Regions from separate parts of the Homo sapiens genome. Here all the other regions are linked to region 4. Evidence: promoter capture Hi-C in human tissues and cell types (Jung and others, 2019). All regions are on one chromosome and are shown on one strand. The core of a region is centred on a gene start or on the middle of the fragment in contact, and the rest is flanking DNA. Distances in the headings are between cores, read along the strand shown. Region 1 overlaps CSNK1G1 (casein kinase 1 gamma 1). Region 2 overlaps CSNK1G1 (casein kinase 1 gamma 1). Region 3 has its middle 5.7 kb from the start of KBTBD13. Region 4 holds the start of RBPMS2 (RNA binding protein, mRNA processing factor 2). Region 5 holds the start of CLPX (caseinolytic mitochondrial matrix peptidase chaperone subunit X). Region 6 holds the start of ZNF609 (zinc finger protein 609). Region 7 overlaps CSNK1G1 (casein kinase 1 gamma 1).

What was found. The method cuts DNA at HindIII sites, captures the fragments that hold promoters and counts their contacts. A contact is called where the count stands out against the background at its distance.
Region 1: a fragment that was not itself captured here is called in contact with the fragment with the promoter of RBPMS2 in region 4 in 1 of the 25 tissues and cell types used here (lymphoblastoid cells).
Region 2: a fragment that was not itself captured here is called in contact with the fragment with the promoter of RBPMS2 in region 4 in 2 of the 25 tissues and cell types used here (adrenal gland and lymphoblastoid cells).
Region 3: a fragment that was not itself captured here is called in contact with the fragment with the promoter of RBPMS2 in region 4 in 3 of the 25 tissues and cell types used here (IMR-90 fibroblasts, lymphoblastoid cells and spleen).
Region 5: a contact is called between the fragment with the promoter of CLPX here and the fragment with the promoter of RBPMS2 in region 4, in 1 of the 25 tissues and cell types used here (mesenchymal stem cells).
Region 6: a contact is called between the fragment with the promoter of ZNF609 here and the fragment with the promoter of RBPMS2 in region 4, in 2 of the 25 tissues and cell types used here (adrenal gland and liver).
Region 7: a contact is called between a fragment that was not itself captured here and the fragment with the promoter of RBPMS2 in region 4, in 1 of the 25 tissues and cell types used here (lymphoblastoid cells).

Annotation. Positions count from the first base shown.
Region 1 is chr15:64,286,755-64,289,454 of GRCh38, forward strand. The region is part of intron 2 of CSNK1G1 (casein kinase 1 gamma 1); the gene reads right to left. Among named protein-coding and RNA genes, the nearest start is that of CSNK1G1, 68 kb to the right of the region's middle. The HindIII fragment of the contact is 7,080 bases long and covers 1-2,700 here.
Region 2 is chr15:64,305,204-64,308,059 of GRCh38, forward strand. All of the region lies in intron 1 of CSNK1G1 (casein kinase 1 gamma 1), which reads right to left. Among named protein-coding and RNA genes, the nearest start is that of CSNK1G1, 50 kb to the right of the region's middle. The HindIII fragment of the contact is 8,039 bases long and covers 1-2,856 here.
Region 3 is chr15:65,080,938-65,083,964 of GRCh38, forward strand. No RefSeq gene overlaps it. Among named protein-coding and RNA genes, the nearest start is that of KBTBD13, 5.7 kb to the left of the region's middle. The HindIII fragment of the contact is 8,916 bases long and covers 1-3,027 here.
Region 4 is chr15:64,774,150-64,776,849 of GRCh38, forward strand. It overlaps RBPMS2 (RNA binding protein, mRNA processing factor 2), which reads right to left and starts at 1,440. Exons shown (of 8, transcript NM_194272.3): 1 at 1,084-1,440. The coding sequence starts at 1,170. RefSeq lists enhancers at 1,301-2,147, 2,148-2,700 and a silencer at 1,616-1,865. The HindIII fragment of the contact is 13,175 bases long and covers 1-2,700 here.
Region 5 is chr15:65,183,879-65,186,648 of GRCh38, forward strand. CLPX (caseinolytic mitochondrial matrix peptidase chaperone subunit X) reads right to left here and starts at 1,464. Exons shown (of 14, transcript NM_006660.5): 1 at 1,197-1,464. The coding sequence starts at 1,275. RefSeq lists an enhancer at 1,097-1,981 and a silencer at 1,403-1,712. The HindIII fragment of the contact is 6,593 bases long and covers 1-2,770 here.
Region 6 is chr15:64,459,076-64,461,837 of GRCh38, forward strand. It overlaps ZNF609 (zinc finger protein 609), which reads left to right and starts at 1,503. Exons shown (of 10, transcript NM_015042.2): 1 at 1,503-1,763. LOC105370861 (a long non-coding RNA gene) reads right to left here and starts at 1,512. Exons shown (of 3, transcript XR_932367.3): 1 at 1,424-1,512. RefSeq lists an enhancer at 1,025-1,094 and silencers at 1,555-1,674, 1,735-1,834. The HindIII fragment of the contact is 20,496 bases long and covers 1-2,762 here.
Region 7 is chr15:64,270,514-64,273,213 of GRCh38, forward strand. All of the region lies in intron 2 of CSNK1G1 (casein kinase 1 gamma 1), which reads right to left. Among named protein-coding and RNA genes, the nearest start is that of CSNK1G1, 84 kb to the right of the region's middle. The HindIII fragment of the contact is 4,787 bases long and covers 1-2,700 here.

The sequences.
Region 1 (2,700 bases), core at 11-2,510, 490 kb before region 4:
TAGTGTTTATAACATCCTCCACTTTGATTCTGCTCTAAATTTACTTTGCAATAGTATAATATTAAACTTCACAATAATTAATTTACCAATGTTTTTCCTCCTCACCCCCTGGAAAATCTCTGACGATTAATGTTGGGGATGATCCACCATAAAAACTAGATGGTGTCACTTAAAAGATCATTAGTTATCATTTTATACTTTATTTATATTTCTTTTTCTGGTAACATGTAATTATATTAAATGCTAATGACTATCATCTTTGTATTATAATTAGACATTTATTCTGATGTCTTTTGTAACTATTTTTTTCTGGCTTGTGGTATTTCAACTATACATTTAACCAGTAACCGGTAAGACTACATGGCATATAATAGAAATAGCTACTTGTGATGTCTTGGATCTGGGCTGTAGTTCCAATTCTGTGACAAGCTGGTTGTTCTCCCTAGACCAAGTCACTTAATTTTTAATTTCTCTCATCTTTAAAACGATGACAGTTGAACTAGACAATGCTAAAGTTCCTTATAAGTCTAAAACTTAACTACTTTTGTTGATCTGGACTTCACATATTAAGTTACTCAAAGTTACCATAAACTTTTGGGAAGCCTGGGACCATTCTTGTCTCATTCTAAACTTACAGTCATCTTTTTCATATTAATTTTTGCTAATCTAGTTGTCAAATCTAAAATTGTACAGTAGAACTGGTTTGTGAACCATGGTTAGGACTTTTGTTCAACTCTTTGCTTATTTAATATAATGCTGAATCTTGATTCTGTTAACCAGCAATACATATTAGCTGCCCCACCCAAAGCACTGTGTTGTGTACAGCTTTCATCAGTATGTTCTTCAAAGGTTTGATCCAATTCACTGTTGAAGTGGATAGGACCAAAATACAGAATTCTACTGTTTAGCATCAATGAGGGCAATGATCCATTAACTCATTCTCTTTTATGAAGATGGTTAAAGGAATGACAAATCTACTTAATTATCTTTTCAGTCACCGCACATTTCTATATGTTACCAGAATACACAAAAGTATGTCAAATAAATGCCCTGCTGAAATAAAAATGTATAACATAGACATCTAGTTTAACATGGCAGAAAAAAATTGAGACATTTAGCTCTATTTATTTCCAAAACCCCACTGAAAGGACAAAGGAAACAAGAAAGGACAAAGAGAACAGGTGAGGAAACAGTAGACTAGAGATGTCAACATTTTGGAAGATGAGAATTGAATAAACAAATGGTAAATGACTTAGCAAAACTAAGCCATCCAGCAGAAAAGGAATCTAAACACAGAATTACCTAATATCATGACAAATTTTTTAATTGTTGGACTTGAGGAAAAAAAATTAATGAAAGGTATATTGATAACTAAGAATTTTTTTTAAAAATCAAGTATCAGCAATTTTTAATTCTGAGGGAAGGAATGATGGAGTCATACTAAAAAGGAAATACAGTAACAGTGCTCTCATAGATTGGTTGTAAACAATACTTCCACAGCCATAAAGCTGTAAATGTAAAAAAATTATTGAACCAAAAAATATGACATAAGTATATTGGGAGAATATGGGCAAGGTATGTACGTCATTAGGGATGGCATCTGTGAGACAATCAATAACAACATCTAATATTGAAAAAATTAAGAAATAATATTTAGAAATAAGGAGGTATCTAGACGACATGGATAAAATAATTGAACCACTTGCCTATAGGATTCAGAACTTTAGAATCTATGTAACCTAGTTATTGGAATTAAAGATAAATTATAAAAAATATTACATGATACTTTATAAAGTTATATATATATATGTGTGTATGTGTGTGTGTGTTTGTGTGCATGTGTATATATATATATTTCCTCTTGTCCTAGTAACCCCAACATAGAAAAAAAAAATTGAATCAATCCAGCATCACCTGCTCTTTGAAAGCCCACAACAGCTGGCAGTAAGCTCCACTTTCTTTGACAAAAGCTTTGCCGCCTTCTGGAAAAGTAGGCCATAAGTTCAGACAGTTTTTTCCTTAGGATGCATGATGACATCATGTAAATACTGCTTCTGAATCACCCTCATAAACACATCTTTCTATAAACTTCTGTTGCCCATAACCATCCTACTTTCATAGTCCTCCTCAAAAATTGTGGCCAGACATGGTGGCTCATGCCTGTAATCCCAGGACTTTGGGAAGCCAAGGTGGGCAGATCACCTGATCTCAGGAGTTTGAGACCAGCCTGACCAACATGGCGAAACCCCATCTCCACTAAAAATACAAAAATTAGCCGGCCGTGGTGGTGCACGCCTGTAACCCCAGCCACTCCAGAGGCTGAGGCAAGGCACGAGAATCACTTGAACCCAGGAGATGAAGGCTGCAGCGAGCCGAGATTGCAACACTGCACTCCAGCCTGGGCGAACAAGTGAGACTCTGTATCAAAAAAAAAAAAAAAAAATTCCGGAATTGTTTGGCAAGCCTGGAAATTTTACCATTACATTCTTCTGGTTAACCATTCAAGATGTCAATGCATAATCTTGCAAGTATTGTATCTGTGACACTTCTAAAATTACCATATTAATGCAATGCAGACTGTGTGTCACCTAATGTGGTTAGAACTCTTCATTTCTACTTTATTTTGATGGATTATGCTATTGACAGAAATAATTCTTCTCCAAGATCTGTTAAAACTGCTTAACCTTAACAAATTGTGCT
Region 2 (2,856 bases), core at 289-2,788, 470 kb before region 4:
CCTAACCTGATGTTTAAAACACAGGGTAAATTTCAAGAGCAGTATCATACCCAGAATAAGTATTTAGCAAACATTAAGCAAAAATGATATCTGTGTGCTCCAGTGCACACATGAATGTGTGTTTATAAAACTATCAATAACTATAGGACAAATTAAAAGACACTGTAGGACAATTTGAGTACCAATACAAGGCTTGAAATGCATTTAAGCTAAAACAAAACAAAACAAAAGGCCAGGTGCAGTGACTCACATCTGTAATCCCAGTGTGTTGGGAGGCCACAGTGGGGAGAATCACTTGAGCCCAGGAGTTCAAGAACAGCCTGGGCAACAAAACGAGATCCTGTCTCTACAAAATAAAAATAAAAATTGGCCGGGCAAGGTGGTATACACCTATGGAACCAGCTACTCAGGAGGCAGAACTGGGAGGATTGTTTGAGCCCAGGAGTTCAAGGTTGCAGTGCGCTATGATAGTGCCAGTATGACCCTGTCTCCAAAAAAAAAAAAACAAAAACAAAAACAAAAAAAAAACTTACTATAAAGCTACAGTACTCAAGACAGTGTGATATTGCAAAAAAAAAAAAACACAAATAAATCAATGGAACAGAATGGAAAGCCCAGAAATAGATTCACACAAATATATTCATACCAATCTTTGACAAAGGAGCAAAGGCAATTCAATGGAGAAAGGATAGTCTTTTTAACAAATGGTGCTAGAACAATTAGACATATATTTGCAAATAAAGAAAAATAATCTAGATACAGACCTTACATCTTTCGCAAAAATAAAATCAAAATGGATCACAACCTAAATGTAAAACACAAAATGATAAAACTCCTACTATATGCCATAGGAAAAAATCTAAATGACTTCGGGTTTGACAATGACTTCTTAGATATACCAACAAAAGCATGATCAATGAAAGAAGAAATTGTTAAGTTTAACTTCACTAAAACTAAAAACTTCTGCTCTGGGGAAGGCACTGCTAAGAGAATGAAAAGATAAGCCACTGATTAGGAGAAAATATTTACAAAACACTTAACTTGTTAGAGGCCTGTTATCTAAAATATACAACACTCTTAAAACTCAACAATCAGAAAACAACCCAGTTAAAATATGAGCAAAATATTTGAATCAGACGTCTCTTCAAAGAAGATATACGGATGGCAAATACATATATGAAAATATACTCAATACCATATGTCAGAAGGGAATTGCAAATTAAAACAATGATACCACTATACACTTATTAGAATAGTGAAAATCCAAAACACTGACAACATCAAATGCTAAGGAAGATATGGAGCAATAGGAACTCTCATTCACTGCTGGTGAGAATGCAAAATGGTACGGCTATTTTGGAAGAAAGTTTGGCAGTTTCTTATGTAACTAAACATACTCTTACCTATGACCCAGCACATTTCTTGGTATTGACCCAAATGAAATGAAAACTTAAGTCCACACAAAAACCACCACCTAAACGTTTACAGCAGCTTCATTTGTAGTTGTCAAAAAATGAAAACACTAAGATTTCCTTCAATAGGTGAATGAATAAACAAATTTGTGGTATAGCCATGCAATGGAATATCATTCAGCAATAAAAGGAAATGAATTATTGAAAGCTACAAAAAGACATAGAAGAACCTAAAATGCATATTGCTAAGTGAAAGAAATCCATTTGAAAAAGCTAAATACTACATTCCAAATTCATGACATTCTAGAAAAATCCTAACTATGGAGATGGTAAAAAGATCAATGGTTGCCAGATATTGTGGGTGGGGAGGGGGGCGGGTGAACAGGTGGAGCCCAGGGGATTTTTAGAGCAGGAAAACTATTCTGTATGATACCATAATGGTAGATGCATGTCATTATACATTTGTCCAAATCCATAGAATGTATAATACAAATAGTGTAATACATTCTATCTAATGTAAACTACCGACTTTAGTTAATAACGTGTCAATATTGGTTCGTTAACTACTACAAATGTAGCATAGTAATGCAAGACATTAATAATAGGGGAAAACGGGGGTGGAGGAGTGTTGGGGGATATAGGGGAACTCTGTACTCTCCACTCCATTTCTCTGTAAACCTAAAACTGTACCCAAAAAATCTAAAAATAAAGCCTGTTAATTAAAGTAATAATTCTATCTAAAAAAAGCAACAAGAAACTTAGGAAGCTATATTACAAAACCTGTACAAAAATCTATGCTCAAAACTACAAAATATTGGCCAGGCATGGTGGCTCATGCCTGTAGTCCCAGCACTTTGGGAGGCTGAGGCAGGTGGATCACTTGAGGCCAGGAGTTCAAGACCAGCCTGGACAACGTGGCAAAACCCTGTCTCTATTTAGTATACACTACTGTATTTCATGTACATATATATATACATACACACCACAGTATATCTAATCTTCAGACTACATTTTAGTAGTACACTAAAGTACGGGGACTTATGAAACATCTTGTCAGCAACTTACTTGTTTTTGATTTTGTTTTTGTTTGAGACGGAGTCTCGCTCTGTCACCCAGGCTGGAGTGCAGTGGTGCAATCTCGGCTCACTGCAAGCTCCGTCTCCCGGGTTCACGCCATTCTCCTGCCTCAGCCTCCTGAGTAGCTGGGACTACAGGTGCCCACCACCACGCCTGGCTAATTTTTTGTATTTTTAGTAGAGACGGGGTTTCACCATGTTAGCCAGGATGGTCTCAACCTCCTGACTTCATGATCCACCCGCCTCAGCCTCCCAAAGTGCTGGGATTACAGGCGTGAACCACCGCGCCCTGCCTGTCAGCAACTTACGCTTATGTGGTCAGGGAAAAAAATGTTCGTCTTCTACTTGCCAAAAAGGCACAGAAAACA
Region 3 (3,027 bases), core at 301-2,800, 310 kb after region 4:
AATCCTTTGCATCTTTACATACATGCATGTACATATTTGTGCATATGCCTACAAGTTAGCATGTAACTTCACAAAGTCTGGGCTCTAATCTATAGTAAATTGTAAGGCAAAGGTACATTCCCCTTGAAAATTAAATAACTCTTCTCTGTTCAAAGTGTCCCAAAGTGACATTGAAAGGAAATAATCCTTCTTTTGCCTTACTTCCAAGTTACAGATAACTTTCATAACAGTACAGAGCATTTTCCTCCTTCCTCCTGACCAGTGCTGAACACCTGAGACTTGCCACATGATAATCCATCAGCTCCTAGTCTCTCTTATCCCACAGCATTGTCTGCACTTGGGGCTGCTTAGCCCCAGCCTGCTGGCTCCTGGCATTTGGTTGTTCCTCCCTTCATCCAGGGCAGCCCTTTCTGAGATGCCTTTTGTGCGTAATAATAACACAGTGTTCACAGAGAGCTTTCCCACAGTTGACTTACTTGAGCTTTTGAGAATTTTAAGTGGCAGATAGTTTGGCAACACCCCTACTCCCGCAGCTTAATGGAGGGAAAAAAGCTCAACGGTCATGTGATTAGAAGAGGCTCGTTAGGTAGTGGCAGAACCTGGCTGTGAACCCAGGGCCACAGGCTTGTCTTCTGTGCTACATGCCTGCTTGGCCGACATCCTGAGATGGACAGGGTGTTTCCAATGGTCTCCTTAACACTCCCTCCGTTTTGCCTTTCTCTATGTATCCCCACCTCTTTTGGGGGTTCGTTTGTTCCCTTGGACTCAGCCCTTTCTCTTCCCTCTTCCATAGGAAAGTTAACTAGTTCTCTTCCCTTAGGATAGACCTGGGAGACCAGTAGCCCCGTTCAGCCCAGGTAATGACTGGTTTAGGCCCTGGGGGATATTTGCACGTTCACTGATACTTCCCTCGTCTCAGGAAGTGTGGGGAAGCTTTGTAACCCAGCCCACCTTCTCTGTCTAAGGGTTCTCACAGTTAAGGCTTTGTTCCACCCACAGTCAGCATGTGTCACCACTGCCCACCACCCTCAGCAGGGATGGTGACTGTGCCTGGGGTGCCTGTGAGGAAACCAGCAGAAAGCCAGAATGGCTGGCTCACCCAGAGTCACACAGGCAGTTAAGTGGAAGAGCAGGGACTTGAACTCAGGACTTGGGATTCTCAGCCTCTCATTCCCCGGCATCTCGGCTTGACTATTGCATGAAGGTGTGGGGGGCACAAACCAGGTGCAGCTGGGCAAATTACAGAAACACTTAGGAGTTACTGAGCTCAGAGGGCTGGATTTGAAATCTCTCTGTCCCAGCCCAGAGGTTTACTCTGAGAAGTCCGTCCTTTCTGAGAGGCCTACACTCACACAGCTTAAAGCTGCAGGGATCATTTTCCTGAACCTGGTGGCAGCCCTGCAGCCCAACTCTCTGGAGTTCTCTCCAGTCTTCCACAAACGTTCTCCTTGCCCCTGACTCCAGATGTCCTGCACCCCAAGCCTTCCTCTCCCTGAAATCATCCTATGTGGTTTATATAGCCCGCCTGGCAGAGGCAGAGAAGCTGCCCCACCCCTGTCCACCAAGGACCTGCTTCCTTGCTGGCTTCCCTTCAGTGTGCTCACAGGGCAGCCAGAGCCATCCTAGTTCAACAAAATGCCAGTCAGAGCCTGGTGCGCCCCCTCTGAAAGGCAAAGTCCTTTCAGACTCTCCCACCCTGTTTCCTCCCTGACTTCATCTCCTCCCACTCCTCTCTGGCCTCATTGCTCCTCAGACGCACCAGGCACACTCCGGGCTCAGGGTGTGTGGCTGGTGTCCCTCTGCCTGCGCACTGCCTCAGCCCCACCCCACTTCCTGCAGGTCTTGGCTCAGATGTCACTTCGATCCTACAGACTCTCCTAACCTCCCTACTTAAAATCTACCTCCCCCTTCTCTACATGTTCTCCTCCCTTTTCCTGTTTTATTTTTCTGCATAGCTTTTAGCATCATCTTCCATGCTATCTTTTCACTTGTTTGCTGTTGGTTTTCTCCTACTAAAATTTGAGCTCCACGAAGGCAGAGGGTTTTTTCTGTTTTGTTCACTGCTCTCTCATCAGGACCCAGAAAAATGACTAGAACGTAGTAGGCAGCTTAAGAGATGATTTATTTAGTAGGGACTTAAGAAATATTTGTTGAATGAATGAATGGCACTCAACGGATGTTTGTTGAAAGAATGCATTAATGAATTGATCAGTCAATCAAGGAAACTCCATAGGAAAGGTACAGAGAAAGGCTCTCAGATTTCAGAGGACAGGAGTATCATTTCTGGCAGGGCTGTGGCAGGTGGCCAGGGAAGACTTTTCTGTGGAGGTGACGAGCTGTCAAGTTTGCAGTCCACCTTGGGAAGAGTGGGATCTGAAAAGAGCAGCCGCTCACCGGTCACTTTTCTTTCAAGGGAAGGGAGGAAGCTGGGATTAGAAATGCTAATCATCCCTTGAAGAATGGCTCCTCTTGGCGGCGGAATACACACAGGGCTGCTCTGTTTATTTTCCTTTGGCCTCAAGGAGCTGGGGCCTCTTTTTCATCCTAATTGCTTTGCTTCAAGTTGCTGTCACATCCCAGGAACGGCAGCAAATTAACTGTGCTGGTGGGAGACACAGCTGTCAGAAGACAGGCTGGCCCCAGCAGGCCAGTAATAGGCATGGGATACAGGACCCCCCTAGAGGAGGTCTTGTCCCAGCAGCGTCCTCTGCAGCCCTCATGATTCTGCCCCAGCTGGACTGGGGAAGCATGAAAAGAGGGAGCCCTTCTCTCTGGCATTCGAGTAACTAACAAAGGGAAAATGGGCCTTTTGTTGGGCTGCAGGGTCTTGGAGCAGGGTATAAGCCTCTAGTTCCACCCCTCTCTTCACAGGGAAGGAAAGCCAGGTCGCAGGTTAGGGGAAAGCAACTTTCCTGGAGACAAAGCAATGCAAGTGGACCACCCAACCTAAAGCCTGCTTCTCTGGAATCCTCCTCCCATCCTAACATGTTATTTCCTGTGCTGCCTTCCAGGGCACTCATGAAAGAG
Region 4 (2,700 bases), core at 190-2,689:
CAACACCAGTCCACACCAGGGGCTCTGCGGTTTCTCCCCCAGGCCAAGGGGAAGGGCGCCCAAGGTGGATAACCAGCCCTTGGTTTCCTGGGCGAGAACATGCCAGGGCAGGGGCAGGAAGGCTCTCTCACCCCTAGAATGACGCAGCAGAGGCCAGAGGCCCTGCGAAGCCTGTCCCCTTCTACTCCAGTTCTTGTCTCCGCCAGCCTAGCTCCTCGTCCCTATTCACTGATATCTTTGAGGCTTTTATCCAGCACCCCACCCCGCACACACATCCTCCCTACCATCCATTAACCACCCAGCTGCTGGTGGTTCCACGGAGCCGCCTTACACTCCCTCCCTTTCGCACATGGCCGGTGGACGAGATGATTTCGCCCCTCCTGGCAGGATCCCACCCAGGCCAGCTTTGGGGTCCTGGCTTGGTTGCCAGGACAAACCCAGAGAGAGGAGAAGGACGAACTGAGTGTCTTTAGTCATCTTCCAAACTAATTAAATTGTGGGCTCACCTCTGCCAAAGCCCAGGTTCTGGGGCTGTGAAGAAAGCCCGCCCACCCCCATGACAACAGCTCGCAGGAACCGAGGAGCCGGCCGGCCCAGGCCTCCAAGGTCACGGGGAGGGGGTCAGGGCGGAAAAGGCAGTGGAGTGAGGGTGCCGCCCTCGGGCCGTGCTAATCCCGCTCCGCTCCGTGCCGCCGAGGCGGGGTCCTGGCCACGCAGGAGGTGCGCCTCGGAGGAGGGCGGCGAGCGGCTACGGGGTGGGGAGCAAGGGGCGCGCGGGCGGCAGGCATGGAACGGACGCGGCGCATCTCGCCCACCGCGGGACGCCCGGACGGCGGCCGGCGCGCGCGGCCCGCCTCGAGCCCGAGAGGGCGGGGAGACAATGCCTGTCCGGCGGGGCAGTCCAGGCCGCACGCTCCCGCCCGCGGACACGGGCCGCTCCTACCCGGGCGAGAGGGCAGCGGCGGGAAGGCGCCGGGAGCGATGGCCACCCCGGCCCCGCGAGGCGCGGCAGGCCCCGCTCGCCCTCTCCCGCGCCCGCCTGGCGTGCGCTTCACCCGGCAAGTCCCGGGGCCACAGACCCACCTCCTCCTCCAGGGCGCCGCCGGAGCCCGCGCCGGAGCCGGTGCCGGTGCTGCCGCCGTGCTCGCCGTCCGGCTTCAGGTTGCTCATGGTGCGGGGGAGGGGGCGGCGGGAAGGAACGCGAGGGCGAGCGCGGCGCCGGCCCCGCGGGAAGTGGGAAGGGGCGCGGGGAGCGGTGCGCTCGCGGGTGCGGAGCGGGTGGCGGGGGACCCACGGGGCAGTGAGAGGGGCAGCCTCCGCGTCGGGCCAGGGTCACATCAAGTTTGGCGGGTGCGGAAGGTGGGGAGGGGGTGCGGCGGGGGAGGCAGTGGGAGCCGGAGGGGCCGCCGCCTCCGCCTTTTCACTGCGACCGGCGAGTGCGCCGCGGCGGCGGCGGCGGCGGCAGCGGCGGCGGGGGGCGGGCGCCGGGGGAGGGGGCGGGCGCCGGCGGCGGGGGGCGGGGCCGGAACCGGCCTCAGCTGGGGCCCGGCCAGCCCCCTCCCCCGCCCGCCGCGCGGTCTCCGGGGGAACGCGCAGCCAATCCCCACCGCCCACCGTGGGCTCGCCCCGGCCCCGGCCGCGGGGCGCCGGCCTCCGGCCGGGCCTTTCCCCTCTCTCTCGCCTGGGTCAGCGCTCTCCCTCTCTCCTCTTCCCCCGCGCCCTTCTCCACGGCGAGTTTTTAAACTTTGATGAACTCGCCCGGCGAACTTTCTTAAAGGGGCCGCGCGCTGCGCGCCCCAGCCCGCGGGAGGTGGAGCCCCGTGCCCCGCACCCAGCGCCCCGGTCCCTGGGCGGCCCTGCCCGGGCGGCCTCGCGCTTAGGGCACCCGCAGCGAGGTTTCCGGGCCGTCGACTCCCCTTGTATCTTGATCTAGGGTTTTGGGGTTCCCGACGCACTCATTCTGCCCCTAAATCCAGTCGCGCAGACCTCAGCTCCGGGGGACCGAGTTCTGGGGGTGATGGCCGGGGGGAGGGGGTTGGGAGACACCTGAGCTTTGGCCCGGGCTGGGCGCTGTTTTGCTGAGTGACCTTGAGGAAATCACTTCCCCTCTCTGGCCTCAGGCTCCCAGCCCAGAGGGTGGGACTTAGGATCTCAAACTCCCTTCCCACTCCCAGTCACTATCTGAATAGGACTTAGGTGGGGATTCGAGTGTTGGGACCCCAATGGTCATTAGCGAGGGCTGCCTCGAATGACCAAGAAGGTTCTGTTGCCCACCTTGCCCTCAACACGCCTGGCTTTCGGGTCTTCTCGCTCCTCCCCCGACCTCAGTGCCCCTCACACCTTTCCCTGCCTCCTATTCTGAGCCCGAAGGCTGGGGACGGATGTAATAGCCTAGAGGCTGGGGGAGGTGGGGGAGGTCGTCGTGACTCCCCCCGCACCCCCGCGCAGGTCAGTAGGGCGCGGCCTCTGGGTCGGTTTTCTCTTCTATTTGAAAACCCAGCCGATGGGGGCCCGCCCTGCTGCCACAGTAGAAACCCGCACCCACCTCGGGGAGCGCTGGAAGCGCTGCAGCCTGAATCCGGCAGAGCCGCGGGAGAACTGGGTCCCTCCTCAGTGCCCCTTCTCCTGGACGGGGCGGAGGTTGCGGTGACCCGAGATCTTGCCATTGCACTCCAGCCAGGGCAACAAGAGCGAAACTCC
Region 5 (2,770 bases), core at 214-2,713, 410 kb after region 4:
TATATCAGATAAATGGATTAAAATATGTCACTTTAAAGTGTTTGCAAATCGAATTCCTGGAATCGGGACATCTACTGGTTGAGGCTTAACATCGATTTAGGATTAAATTTACTCCCTTACATTTATATATCATTTTACAAAATGCTTCTGCCCACGTTACCTCATTCAATCCTTCCTTCTGTAGTAAAGAAACTGGAAGATATATTTAGTAAACAATAAGGATTTTATAATTGGCTTAGAAGTTAGATAAAAGGGGCCTTTTTAAAAATCCATCCAAGGGTCATAAACCGATAAGCCAAAATAAAACGAATTTGTCTAGAAGTCAGTCATTATAACAGGATCTAGCCTCGTGGTCTGACTTCCACAGATTTGAGGAAGAGAAAAAAAGTTTATTTTCCAGACTCTCTTGGCTGGGGCGCCATTCTTTCACAGCTTCAGATAAACAGAAAGAAAAGGTAAACAACATGCGCCACTCTTAGGAAACTACCTCCCGGTCAAGTTGGGAAAGCCAGCAAAGGACTGCTGAAACACCCAAGTACTTCCGAACCAACTCCTGCGGGACTTCTCCCCATCTCTCCCGCCGCTGTCCTGCGGGCCCCGGGGCTTGCCTGACGCCGGGAAGTATTGTGAACCTTGTTTATGTCCCAGTGTCAGGGCCGCACAGTGATAGTAACATCTCGGGTATCGCGCGGCTTGCGTCCGGGACGGCCAGCTGGGTGCCCCGAGTCCTGGGGGACCCTAGTAGGGACAGATCCTCAGCCGAGCCCCTCCTGGAGCCCCCAACGGGCCCGAGGGGGATCCCGGCCAGGCTGCGGAAGAAGAGCCGCAGCCATGGCAGGCGGCGGTCCCCGGCAGGGCTGAGTGGGATCTGGAGACATTTTTTAATAACAGGAGCATTTTGTGCCTTTCAGGGTTTCTACAAAGTGGCCGCATTCCGGCCCCAAAGTCAGCAGGCCTGAAAGCGTGCAGGCAGGCGCGTGGGAAGGAGTTTACTTCCAATTTGAGCAACGGCTGCTCCAGAGGTTGGCAGAGCCCCATTCCACGGGGAAAGTGGTGGGTGCCGGGCGAAGCGCCGCGCATTCCCTCACACTCCCCGGGTGCAGCAGGCCTCGTGCCCTCCCCGGGGCCCCCAACCATTGGCCAGTCCACCCCCCCCCCGACAGGCTGAGGGCTCAGGAGTGGCACTATTTCGTTACCTCTCTGCGCGGAGGCGAGTGAGGAGGTGATGAGCCGGACGGCCGCCGCGCCGCAAGTACAAGCACCGCAGCTGGGCATCTCCGCGAGGCCTAGGCCGGGGCTTCGCCCCCTGAGGACCTCCGGGTCACAGCGGCGTGAATCCTGCCCGCAAGGCGCGCTGACTCGGTTCCGAACCCTTTCGCGGGCCCTAGACCCCGTGGAGAGTTCACCTGCCCGGCAGCCAGGCCTTCACGCTTCTCTGCCCCACAGCCGTCTATTCACCAGAGTAGACACCCAACCCCCCCCTCCCTTCCCCTCCTTCTCCTTCTACCCCCACCCCCAGCCTACTGGGCCCGGGGAGCTTGCGCGCGCCTGCGCCCTAGGCCCGGGGAGGGGGCGGAGGGCGTGGGCACGCGCCGTGTTTGCGAGCTGGTGAAGCTACGTGAGGCGAAGGCGAGGGGGTGGTGCCCTGGGCGCCAATGAGTTCCCTACGGCAAGCGTCTAGCCCCAACTGGGGCGACTACAGGTCCCGACGCTCAAGGTTGCCAAAAGCCCTTTTATCCTAAAGTTGAAAGGTTTTGCGATAGACGCGGAGAGATGCATGCCGGGACTTGTAGTCCCGAGTCGTCATAGTCGAGCTCTTCCGGTCACTTTTAGTGGGCGGCAGGGAAGGTCAAGGTGAGGCTGGTGGCTTAACCCTCCAGGGGGAAGTCTCTAAAGTGCCTTGGTAGGCGCTGGATGCTTCAGATTCACTAAATTTCTTCCCCCGGAATTCCACATCCTGTGTTCCTTATCTTCTCATTCTCCTTAGTTTCATCACTTGTAACATGGAGTTGGTATTGTCAGTTAGTTCCCTGAGCAGCAATTGTTAGTTGGTAACAGCTCCGTCTCCTTGTTCTTTCAGGCCTCGTGGTGATAAAGCTTCTAGCTGTTGCTAGTCCGTGGGTGCTTTAAAGTCTTGAGGGTTTTCTTTTCTTTCTTTCTTTTTTTTAATTTAGTAAAGATGAGGTCTCCCTATGTTGCCCAGGCTGGTCTCAAACTCCTGGGCTCAAGTGATCCTCTCGCCTCGCCCTCCCAAAGTGCTGGGATTACAGGCGTGAGCCACCGCACCCGGCCGTGATTAAGGATGGCACTGCATAGATAACCTCTGGTCAGGTTCCTATCAGGCCATCCTCTCAAGTTATGAATTCAAAAGCACAGAGCCGGCTGGGCGTGGTGGCTCACACCTGTAATCCCAGCACTTTGGGAGGCCGAGGCAGGTGGATCACGAGGTCAGGAGTTTGCGACCAGCCTGACCCACATGGTGAAACCCCATCTCTACTAAAAATACAAAAATTAGGTAGGTGTGGTGGCGTACTCCTGTAATCCCAGCTACTCAGGAGGCTGAGGTGGGAGAATTGCTTGAACCCAGGAGGCGAAGGTTGCAGTGAGCCGATATCGTGCCATTGCACTCCAGCCTGGGCGACAGAGCGAGACTCCGTCTCAAAAAAAAAAAAAAAAAACCCAGAGCCATCTGAGATTATCCCTGTGAGAAAATGGATCCTTCACCAGGAAAGTGATGGCAAATACTTGTGGTCACATCAGCCCTTCCACA
Region 6 (2,762 bases), core at 253-2,752, 320 kb before region 4:
TTGGTCTAGAGGAACAGTAAATCAAAACTTAAGGTTTGTTTACTATGTGGGACATCTGATCACTTGAAAATTTTTAGTGGTTCTTCGAGGCTTGAGAACTTTCTCTGGCTGAAACTTGGAGTTCACTGCAGGAATGTTTACCTTCCTTTGTTCCCTATTTTTGCAGTCTAGTTCTCTCCAATGGCAGAGTCATGCTCCTTCAGTGGGAGATGACTACTGGAATGTTTAATCCTTAATTAAATCATGCCTAAGTCTAAAACACTAAACCCTTCTCTGTCTCCACCTGCTAAGTAGCTGAATCCTCACTTGTAACTTTGTCTAGTATACATTGGAAGTTCGCTGTCACCTGGGATCAGTTCTGCCCCTGTACTGTCTAACAACATGACTATTGGTGGACCAAAGAGAGATTATTTTTCCTAGACCAGAAAGGTTTACTTTTATCTTTAGCTATCAACCCCTCCCCCCACCTTTTTATGACCTCACTTTATCTCCAAGTCACATGCTATCTTGAGTGGCACTGTTGAAGGATGCCCCAGGATAAGGGAAAAAAGGTAAGATAAATGCAAAGCAAAATAAAATGGTCAAGGACACAGGAAGGACATAATAGGGGCTAGGATGTGGGAGGCCTTGAGAATTAAGGTAAATTTGTTTGCTATGGAATGAGATGGAAGTCTTAGGAGGTCGTCATGAATAGATGTTTCACAAGTGAAAGCTGGGTGGGAGGGCTCACTTAAACATGGACTGAATGCCTACTGTGCACTAGATAGTATGCTGGGCAATCAGAGATGAATAGCAGATAAGGAAAAATAAAAGCTACAATCCTTAGAATGGTGGGTTGGAGAAGGACAGAATAAGGTTTTTAGATAATAAAAGGCAACAAGATTTAGTGATAGAGGATGGTGAGGGGAAAAGGGATATATAGAGGGATTAGAAATGGGTGCTTTGGGGAGAAAAGCAAGTGGTAATCCTAAAAGAGAAAGCTGGAGAACAAAGGATAAAAAATTAGGAGGTTGGTACTTTGCTGAACTAAGGGGTAAAATGGATGAAACCATCAGGAGCTGTGATTGCTCTTCTGTTCTTTGTGGATGCCCATGTTCAGATCCCCTACGGCCCTTTCCTCTCTGTGGTTGAAGGACAACTACAGAAGAGGTGTCTTCTGTGTTATAAGGTGCAATACTCCCCCCAGAGACCTCTCTATGAGGAAGTCTGATCCAGCGAGAGTTCTACTGCCCACGAGGGGACAGCGTTAGGTTCGAGCTCTCTAATCCAGGTTTCTTTGAGTTTATCTTGGTTCTAACCGGCACGCCGGGTTTTCCAGCATTCCCTGAGCTAAGACTCCCTAATCTGGGCTCCGGGTGAGCGCGCATTCCGAGACCCAGGATTTCGCTCCTTCATCCAGGTTCCGGGTTTCCCCTGCGCTCACCGGCTCCAGACTCCACACAAGCGCGGAATCCGGATCCGAGGGCCTGGCAGTCCAGTGTCCGCGTCTTCCGGGTGACTCTGGTTGTCCCGGATCGCGGCGGCGGCGGCGGTGGCGGCGGCTGAGGGACCCGCGGCCCCGGACACAGCGGCACCGGCCGGGCGGGGCGGAGAGGCGCGGGGAGGGGGCAGAGAGCCAGAGCCGGAGCCGGAGCCGGAGCCGGGGTGGGGTGGGGGGGAGGGGCCGCGGGAACGGATGGCGGCCTGGGCCCCGTAGCAGCGGCGGCTCTACGGCCCGGGGCCCCGGGCGGGCGGAGGTGGCGGCTCCCGGGACCGGCCGCGCGGTGAGTCCGGAGCTTTGTGTGGAGCCGGGACTGGGGGAGGAAAGAGGCGGCGGCACCGATGGGGCGCGGGGCTGAGGGGATCTGATGGGGGCCGGGGGCGGCGGCGCTGCCTGACGGAGGAAGTGGGGGTTGGGGGGGCTGGGGCGGAGCGAGGGGAAGGTGTGTAGGGGGGGTCGTTGCGTGGGTGGGGGAGGGGGCGTCGAGGGGCGCGGGGTGAAGTTCAAAGCGTGGCCACGGCCGGTTCAGGCTGAGGGTAGGGGTGCCCGGGAGGGGATTAGGGTCTGGCTAGGTTATGGGAGCAGGCCAGAGAGTTTCTGAGGCGAGTCTGGGTATGTTGAGGGCGCTCGGGGCGACTGGGGCCAGTCAGGGAGTTGGCGGGGGAGGGGGGGCGGGGGCGGTGGTGGTTGTTCAGAGCATAGGGTCGGAAGCAGGACGTGTGCGTGACCTAGGAGTGGGGAGCAAGGTGGCTGGGATCCTGCAGTAAGTAGGTTGTGGGTGTGTGCCCCTAACAGTCTTCAGGTCACATTTACTCCTGTCCTTTTCTTCAAGATGGAGGGATCCCTGGGCCTGGACCTCAACTGCTATCCTTGTACCCCCGGGAGGGTTTGTGACCCTATCCTGTTTGGAAAACCCATGCTGCCCTCTTTTCCCTTTATGTGTAATTACGGTTGGATCATCTCTGTGCTTTGCTCAGATTCTCCTTCCTCCCTCTGGGGTTGAGGAGGAGGAGACACATCTGACCAATTAATGTGTGTTTGTGAAACAGGCAGCAGCAAACAGTCATTTCAGCTTCGAGGAATTAGGCTCACACAGGGTGGAGAGATCAGAGCCCTTCAGGGGGAATATTTCTGAACAAATCACGGATGATTAAATTCTCTAAGAAACAGCTCCCTACCTAAATGAGAGTGAGAAAGATAGGGAAGAAAGCCTGTCTGTTTCCAGCCATGTGTCCAGAGCCTAAGGGGTTGAGGAGAGTCCCCAAGCCCCTACAGGCCTCCC
Region 7 (2,700 bases), core at 24-2,523, 500 kb before region 4:
CTTTGGGAGGCCGAGATGGGCGGATCACGAGGTCAGGAGATCGAGACCATCCTGGCCAACACAGTGAAACCCCGTCTCTACTAAAAATACAAAAAAATTAGCCGGGCGTGGTGGCAGGCGCCTGTAGTCCCAGCTACTCGGGAGGCTAAGGCAGGAACATGGCGTGAACCCAGGAGGCGGAGCTTGCAGTGAGCAGAGATCGTGCCACTGCACTCCAGCCTGGGTGACAGAGTGAGACTCCGTCTCAAAAAAAAAAAAAAACACTACCTGAGCTGTGTCCCAGAGACTCTGGTATGTTGTATCTTCGTTCTCATTAATTTCAAAGGGCTTCTTGATTTCTGTCTTTATTTCATTATTTACCCAAAAGTCATTCAGGAGTAGGTTGTTTAATTTCCATGTAACTGCATGGTTTTGAGTGATTTTCTTAGTCTTGACTTCTATTTTATTTTACTATGTATGTGTGTATTTTATTTATTTATTTATTTTTGAGACAGAGTCTCGCTCTGTCTCCCAGGTTGGAGTGTAGCAGCACGATCTCAGCTCACTGCAACCTCTGCCTCCTGCGTTCAAGTGATTCTCCTGACTCAGTCTCCTGAGCAGAGTAGCTGGGACTACAGGCATGTACCACCACACCTAGCTAATTTTTGTATTTTTAGTAGAGACAGGGTTTCACCATGTTGGCCAGGCTGGTCTTGAACTCCTGAACTCAAGTGATCCGCCTGTCTCAGCCTGCCAAAGTGCTGGGATTACAGGTGTGAGCCACTGAACTCGGCCAATTTATTTATTTATTTTGAGACAGGGTCTCACTCTGTCACCGAGGCTGGACTACAATGGCCCCATCTTGGCTCACTGCAACCTCCGCCTCCCCAAGACGCAAGCAATCCTCCACCTCAGCCTCTCAAGTAGCTGAGACCACAGGTGCACATCACCACACCTATTTTTTTCTGGTATTTTTAGTAGAGACAGGGTCTCGCCATGTTGCCCAGGCTGGTCTTGAACTCCCGAGCTCAAGCAATCAGCCCACCTTGGCCTCCCAAAGTGCTGGGATTACAGGTGTTAGCCACAGTGCCCAGCCTTGGCCTTCATTTTAATTGTACTGTGGTGCAAGAATGTGTTTGATATGATTTTGGTTCTTTTGAATTTGCTGAGAATTGTTTTATGTCCAAATATGTGGTTGATTTTAGAGTATATGCCATGTGGTGATGAGAAGAATGTATATTCTGTTGTTTTGAAGTGCAGAGCTCTGTAGAGGTCTGTAAGATCCATTTGGTGCAATGTTGAGTTCAGGTCCTGAATACCTTTGTTAATTTTCTGCCTCAATCATCTGTTTGATACTGTCAGTGGAGTGCTGCTATTATTGTGTGGGAGTCTACATCTCTTTGTAGGTATCTAAAAACTTGCTTTACGAATCTGGGTGCTCCTGTGTCGGGTGCATATATACTTAGGATAGTTAGGTCTTCTTATTGAATTGAACCTTTTACCACTATGTAATGTCCTTCTATCTTTTTTGATTTTTGTTGGTTTAAAGTCTGTTTTGTCTGAAATTAGAACTGCAATCCCTGCCTTTTTCTATTTTCCATTTGCTTGGTAGATTTTCCTCCATCCTTTTATTTTGAGCCTACGGATATCATTACATGACATGGGTCTCTTGAAGACAACATACTATTGGGTCTTGCTTTTTATCCAGCTTGCCACTCTGTGACTTTTTTTTTTTTCTTTTGAGATGGAGTCTTGCTCTGTCGCCCAGGCTGGAGTGCAGTGGCGCAATCTCGGCTCACTGCAAGCTCTGCCTCCTGGGTTCATGCCATTCTCCTGCCTCAGCCTCCTCAGTAGCTGGGATTACAGGCGTCTGCCACTATGCCTGGCTAATTTTTTTGTATTTTTTAGTAGAGACGGGGTTTCACCGTGTTAGCCAGGATGGTCTCAATCTCCTGACCTTGTGATCCGCCCACCTCGGCCTCCCAAAGTGCTGGGATTACAGGTGTGAGACACCACGCCCGGCCCCACTCTGTGACTTTTAAATGGGGGTATTTAGCCTGTTTACATTCAAGGCTAGTATTGATAGGTATGGATTTGATCCTGACAATGTGTTGTTAGCTGGTTATTATGCTGGCTTGTTTGTGAGGTTACTTTATAGTTTCACTAGTTTGTATATTTAAGTATGTTTTTGTATTAGCTGGTAGTAGTCTTTCCTTTCTATATTTATTGCTCCTTTCAAGATCTCTTGTAAGGCAGGTCTGGTGGTGTTTTGGAATGGGGTCTTGCTCTGTCGCCCAGGCTGGAGTGCAGCGGTGCAATCACAGCTCACTGCAGTCTCAGTCTCCTAGGCTCAAGAAATCTTGGAATGCACCACCACATCCAGCTAATTTTTGTAGAGACAGGGTTTTGCCATGTTGCCCAGGCTGGTCTCAAACTCCTGTGCTCAAGAGATCCACCCACCTCGGCTTCCCAAAGTGCTGAAATTACAGGCATGAGCCACTGTGCCTGGCCTTAACTCTTGTTTTTATCAATTACCCCACTGTAAAATTAGTTTCTTTATACATGGTTTCACTTAAAATCACAGTGTCCAAGAACCTATTGATGAAGTTAAGTGAGAACTTACTGCACTGTATATTTCAAGATAGCTAGACAAGAGAATCTTGAAAGTTATTATCACAAAGGAAGGATAAAGATTGAAGGCTATGAACATGCTAACTACCC